Linked DNA regions of Homo sapiens: region 2 is linked to region 1. The links are contacts of gene promoters, found by promoter capture Hi-C in blood cells and fetal thymus (Javierre and others, 2016). All regions are on one chromosome and are shown on one strand. Each heading gives the region's core, a stretch centred on a gene start or on the middle of the fragment in contact. The rest is flanking DNA. Distances are from core to core; before and after follow the strand shown.

What was found. The method cuts DNA at HindIII sites, captures the fragments that hold promoters and counts their contacts. A CHiCAGO score of 5 or more calls a contact.
Region 2: a fragment that was not itself captured here is called in contact with the fragment with the promoter of RAB24 in region 1 in 2 of 17 cell types (non-activated CD4 T cells and monocytes); the score reaches 6.5 in non-activated CD4 T cells.

What each region holds. Positions count from the first base shown.
Region 1 is chr5:177,302,095-177,304,968 of GRCh38, forward strand. RAB24 (RAB24, member RAS oncogene family) reads right to left here and starts at 1,625. Exons shown (of 8, transcript NM_001031677.4): 1 at 1,078-1,625; 2 at 915-983; 3 at 658-736; 4 at 483-550; 5 at 303-402; 6 at 34-84. The coding sequence starts at 1,194. It overlaps PRELID1 (PRELI domain containing 1), which reads left to right and starts at 1,705. Exons shown (of 5, transcript NM_013237.4): 1 at 1,705-1,983; 2 at 2,531-2,756. The coding sequence starts at 1,892. RefSeq lists enhancers at 1-515, 1,680-2,557, 2,196-2,295, 2,406-2,455, 2,476-2,535 and 2 more and silencers at 1,516-1,585, 1,636-1,715, 1,826-1,965. The HindIII fragment of the contact is 8,255 bases long and covers 1-2,494 here.
Region 2 is chr5:177,483,100-177,485,945 of GRCh38, forward strand. PDLIM7 (PDZ and LIM domain 7) reads right to left here. Exons shown (of 13, transcript NM_005451.5): 11 at 971-1,091; 12 at 768-883; 13 at 295-631. The coding sequence ends at 545. Among named protein-coding and RNA genes, the nearest start is that of DBN1, 11 kb to the left of the region's middle. RefSeq lists enhancers at 917-1,632, 1,633-2,348. The HindIII fragment of the contact is 7,991 bases long and covers 1-2,846 here.

The sequences.
Region 1 (2,874 bases), core at 375-2,874:
GTTCCTGCTGTGAGGCTCCAGCACAGCACTCACCCACACTCTGGCCTGTCTTGCTGGATGTTTCAAAGAGCTGAGCTTTGATATCTGTAAAGAGAAGTGACTAAAGCCTCATACCTGAGAATTAGATAAACAGACAAAAGGGAGGGCTAGCAGTTCAGGGAGTCTCCTGGACCCCACAGTTCAAGGAGGCCAGGAAGACCTCCTAGAGCACCTTGCCCTGGCAGCCAAGGCAGTCCCTATTTTCTTTGATCCACCCAGACAGCCACACACCCCCACCCCCCAAAGGGCTGAGGAGCAGCTACTGTCTGCATAGTCCTGGACGTCGTGGAAGTCCACACGTCGACGCCTCCGGTCTTCTTCCAGCAGGTCACTCTTGGTGCCACATAAGTAGATTTGGCAGCCCTGAGGCAGAAGACAAGGGTCACCTCCACAGGCCAACAAAACCCCAGCCCCTAGTGTTCTAGTGAGGTCTGTTCACCTACCTCCTCTAGGCTGCGCAGTTCCTTCACCCAGAACTTTGCTCGCTCAAAGCTGCTGCTGTCTGTGAGGTCTTGGTGTGCGGCATGCAGGAGACAACCAAGTGGTCAAGGGCTGTTCTCTGGCTAGCCTGGCACCCATCTTTTCTTGTGAGACAGCCCAAACCCCCCCCCCCCTTACCATAGCAGACGATGGCAGCCTTGGCACCCCGATAGTAGATTCTACTCATGGCCTCATAGCGCTCAGAGCCTGCTGTGTCCTAAAGAGTAAGGCCTGAGTCAAACTTAAGGCCACGTTCTCCAGACCCCGCTATTTTCCAGATAAGGAAACGGGTCTATGAGAAATGGGTCTGTGAGGCCACAAATCAACCAGTAATAGGCAGGACCTACACCTCCTCAGGAATGAGTCTCCCAAGAATAGATGGCCGGGGGACTTACCCAAATACCTAATGTCACAGTCCGGTCTCCGACCGACATCACCTTGGCCACGAAGGCGGCCCCGATGGTCTGCAACGAGAGGGAAGAGATCGGGGCCATAGGTGCAGATTACCGGCCCCCCACTCCCCCGCCCACCGTGCCTGGCCCCTCCGGATGCACTCACGTTCTGATAAGGCCCCACCAGAAAGCGGTCGTGCACGTAGCGCTCCACCAGGCTAGTCTTGCCCACGTACTCCTTGCCCAGCATCACCACCTTGACGTCCACGCGCTGCCCGCTCATGCTCCCGGGGCCGCTTCAGCCACGTCAGGGTCCTGAGCGGGGACGGGAGGCAAACCCCGATCTCCGCTCGGCCCAGGCAGCGCCCAAGCCTCAGACCCCGACCCCAAACGGCGCCAACCTACGACTCCAGACAGCGCGTCGGGCTCGAGCTCTGGCCGTGGCCTTGCACTTCGGCAGCGCCCCGTGTGCCCCCGCTGTTCGGCCCCGGGCGCCGATTATCCTTCGAAGACCCCAAGCCTCGGGGCGGCCTGGGAGCGCGCGGGACAGCGTCCTCAACAGCGCAGCACGCCGCCGTGCAGCTCGCTACTCCGTCATTCGCTCGCCTGCCCGGCTTAAGCTCCGTTCTGGCTGGGAATCCCAACCGAACCTGGGGTCTCCCGCAACCCGGCTCCTACCCGCAGCGCCGCGACTCCCGCGGGAGGGGGCTAGAGGGCGAGGGGGCGGGGCCGCAAGGTCACGTGGCGCGGGCGCCGGAAGCGGTGGCTACTGTGTGGCTGCGCCGGAAGTGGCGCGCGGCCGGACAACTCATGGCGGCGGCGGCGGCGGCGGCAGCTGCTTGGGCGCGGTGCGGTGGTGACTGAGCTACGAGCCTGGCGGCGGGTGTGCGCCGAGCCCCGGCCCGGCCCGGCCCTCGCGTGCCTCCCAGGCTCCGCACCCCTGATGCTGCGCGGGTGCTGAGCCCGCTTCGGCCGGGACGATGGTGAAGTATTTCCTGGGCCAGAGCGTGCTCCGGAGTTCCTGGGACCAAGTGTTCGCCGCCTTCTGGCAGCGGTACCCGAATCCCTATAGGTACGTGGTATTTGGAAGAGCAAAACCGCGCCATCTCGCTATCTGGAGATCGAATTATGGGTAACCCCCAAGTACTGGGACCAGGAAGGACTCGATATCGAATCCTAGGTAGACCTTATCGGGGAAGCGGCCAGGCCAGGCCTGCAAGGTCCTGAAGGGAGGTTGGGCCTGGGTGGTGGTTTACTTGAGACCTTAGTGTAAGATTCTTTTCTCAGTGTGGTGAGACAAGAAGAGGCGGCAGTATGGGAGTTGGGAGGGATCTTGGAGTTGGAAATCCTATTTCTCTGCCCGTGGCGCTTTCCTGGGGTGCAATAAATCATGAGGTCCATTCCTGCTAGAAGGCAGGAATCCAGGTCAGTCAGATGGCGGGAGTGGGAATTTGCCCTGGGATGGGCCCTTAACTCTGGTTTGAACCATAGCACATACCACCCTGCAAGGTTACGGGAAGGCGTGGCCTCTCTAGGCCCGGAGCCTCCAAATGGGAATCCCCTCGGGCAGTCTCTTAGGGGCAAGCTTCTGAGGGTCACCTTCACCCTGACACCTGCAGCAAACATGTCTTGACGGAAGACATAGTACACCGGGAGGTGACCCCTGACCAGAAACTGCTGTCCCGGCGACTCCTGACCAAGACCAACAGGATGCCACGCTGGGCCGAGCGACTATTTCCTGCCAATGTTGCTCACTCGGTGTACGTCCTGGAGGACTCTATTGTGGACCCACAGAATCAGACCATGACTACCTTCACCTGGAACATCAACCACGCCCGGCTGATGGTGAGACACCTCCTGTTGTGATTCTGCACCTCCCCCTCTCCCCTCCCCCCGAGATAGAGAGCTCCTCAGATACATGTGGCTAGAGAGCCATAAGGCAGCTTTTGTGGCCGGAGGCAGG
Region 2 (2,846 bases), core at 74-2,573, 180 kb after region 1:
CTTGGCCTTCCAAAGTGCTGGGATCACAGGCATGAGCCACCATGCTAACTACCCTTCCTAACTACCCTTCTCTAACCTCCAAGCCAGGCCAGACCAGTGGCTCCCCTCATGTCTGTGGGCACCGGGCCTGGCACATGGGGTCTCGCCTGTACCTCCTCCACTAACCATGAGCCCGCCATGTCTGCATCACGAGGACCACCCAGATGGCCAGCCCAAGAAAACCATCTTACTCTCCACCCTGCCACGTGCCTCAAATTCTGCCCCTCCGGATGCACAGGGGAAGGGCACACAAGACACAGCTGGGTACAGGTTTATTGTGGCACTGGAGGTGAAAGGGGGCTGGTGTGGCCAGCACCGGTGTGCTGTGGTGGTGGAGGGAGTGGGGTGGGAGGATAAGGTGGGTGGGGCAGGGCCCAGGGAGCCCCAGGCTCGGGCCAGGAGCCAGGGTTAAGGCAACCATTGCCAGCCCTACCCAGAAATGCAGGGCCACGACTCCAGGCCCCTCAGGCTAGGGGCCACCGCGGCAGCTGTGGGCAGAAGGGGCTCACACATGAGAGAAGGCATGGCTCTTGCAGAGAGGCCTGTCCTTCTTGGAGTAGAAGGTCTTTCCTTCCAGGTTGATCTGACATATCTAAGGACAGCAAAGGCCCAGTCACATGGGGTTGGGGGCAGCAGGAGAGGCCCCTTCCCAACTTCTCCTGCATCTCCTGGGGAATGAACAGAGGGCCGGTGGGCTTGGGGCTCAGTTCGAGGGGCGGGGCTCTCACCGCACAGACGAAGCAGGTGTCATGCCAGCTGAAGCCCAGGGCCTCCAGGAAGCGGTCCCCAGCGTCGATCTTGAAGTCACAGCCATGGCATTTCGTGCCAAACATCTTCTCATAGTCTGAGAATGGGGGCAGAGAGAAAGAGGACCTGGATTCATGCCTGCCCCATGCACCATCCCTCCTCACCCTCACTGGCCAGTGGGTACCTCGCTCGCAATAGGGCACGCCCTCCTCCATGTAGAAGGCCCTGTTCCGGATGGGCGTCTTGCAGGCAGCACAGGTAAAGCAGTGCACGTGCCAGGTCATCTTCAGGGCGTGCATGATCTCCTGGAAGGAGGTCCCAGTCACTCGGCAGGCTCAGGCCCCTCCTGCCCTGCCCTGGGTCACGGGAACACAGGAGGGCTGGCCGCAAGCCCTGTTCCTTCTCGCGGTAAACACTACATCTAACTGTTCAGGACTCCCACACCTCCATCTCCAACTCCAAGGTCTCTGAGTGGACGACCACTGCGCCTTCAGACTTGCCATGTCCAGCACTCAGTTCCTGATTCCCTCACCCCAAACCTCTCCTCCCACAGCCATCCCCATCACGCGGATGGCAACTCCATTCTCCTGTCTGCTGCAGCCAAACACACCCTCCTCTCACACCCCACACCAGGTCCACCAGGAAATCCAGTGGGGCCCACCCCCAAGGCACATCCAGATTCTGAGTGCTTCTCACAGCCTCCCTGAAGTGAGGTAAGCCATGGCCATCTGGCCCGTGGGACCACATAACAACTGGCCTACAAGCTCCTCTCTCTGATCCCAGCTGCCACAGCGTGCCCCTGCAACCCAAGACAGGCCTTCTCCCCCTGCATGAAACTGTGTACTGCTTCCCATTGCTCCCAGCAAGAGCCAAGCCCCATGCAGAGGCTGGAGGCCAGCAGGTCTGACCTCGTTCCCAACCGTCTCCGCCACTGCTCTCCCTTGCGTTCTCACCTTGCCTCTGCACACTGGCCTCTTGCCTGAAACTGGCACACCAGGCACACTCCTGTCCTGGGCTTGACACCGGCTGTCCCCTCTGCCTGGACTGCTCTGCCCCAGATATCTCTAGGCTCACCCCTCACCCCCTTCAAGTTTCTGCTCGAATGCAGTCTTCTCCATGAGGGCCCACTCTGACCACACCAGCAGCAGCCAGCTGCCTTCCCTGCACCACGCACCCCAGCACTTGTCGCTCTGCTCTTTCCTGTTTTCCGTAACGTGATCTAACATTACTTCCAGGCAACCTACTTATTGCGCTTATTGCTTACAGTCTGCCTCTCCCCTCTTCTTCCAGCCAAAATGTAAGGCCCAGAAGGGCAGGAAGCATCAACTGTTTTGTTAGCTGATCTATCCCCACAGTGCCTGGCCCTTTGTGGGTGAGTCGACTGGCCTCCGCAGGAGGTGGGAAGGGGCAGAGGCACAAGGGGCTGAGCTCTCCCTGGGCTGGGCTGTTCATCCCTAGGACCCTCGGGGCCAGCCGGGGCCAGCCAGGGCCAGCAGTATTCACATCTGGAGCAGGCAGAGGGCAGCATGGGGCCTCGAGGCGGTATGAGGGTCCAAGATGTGTGGGTCTGGCCAGACCTTGACCTTCTCAAGTCTTGGTTTCTTCCCTTGTGAACTGGGAAGCTAATCCCAGCCTTGTGAGGCTGTTATGAGGATGGCCCTGAGTTTAAATCCAGGGATCCCAGATCCAATCCCTGCAAGGGCCAAGTGGGGACTGTGTCACACGGAGGAGGACCTCTTCTTCTGGGAGCAGTACTACTGGTTCATTCAGGAATGCCTGCCTGGCTCAGGCTGAAATCTAGGTGTTAAAGAGAAATCTGCTGGGCGCAGTGGCTCACGTCTGTAATCCCAGTGCTTTGGGAGGCCAAGGTGGGAGGATCGCTCGAGGCCAGGAGTTCGAGACCAGCCTGGGCAACATAGCAAAACCTCATCTCTACAAAAAGATTTAAAAATCTGCTGAGCATGCTGGTGGGCACCTCTAGTCCTAGCTATTTGGGAGGCTGAGGTGGGAGGATCCTCTGAGCCCAGGAGATCAAGGCTGCAGTGAGCAGTGATCATGCC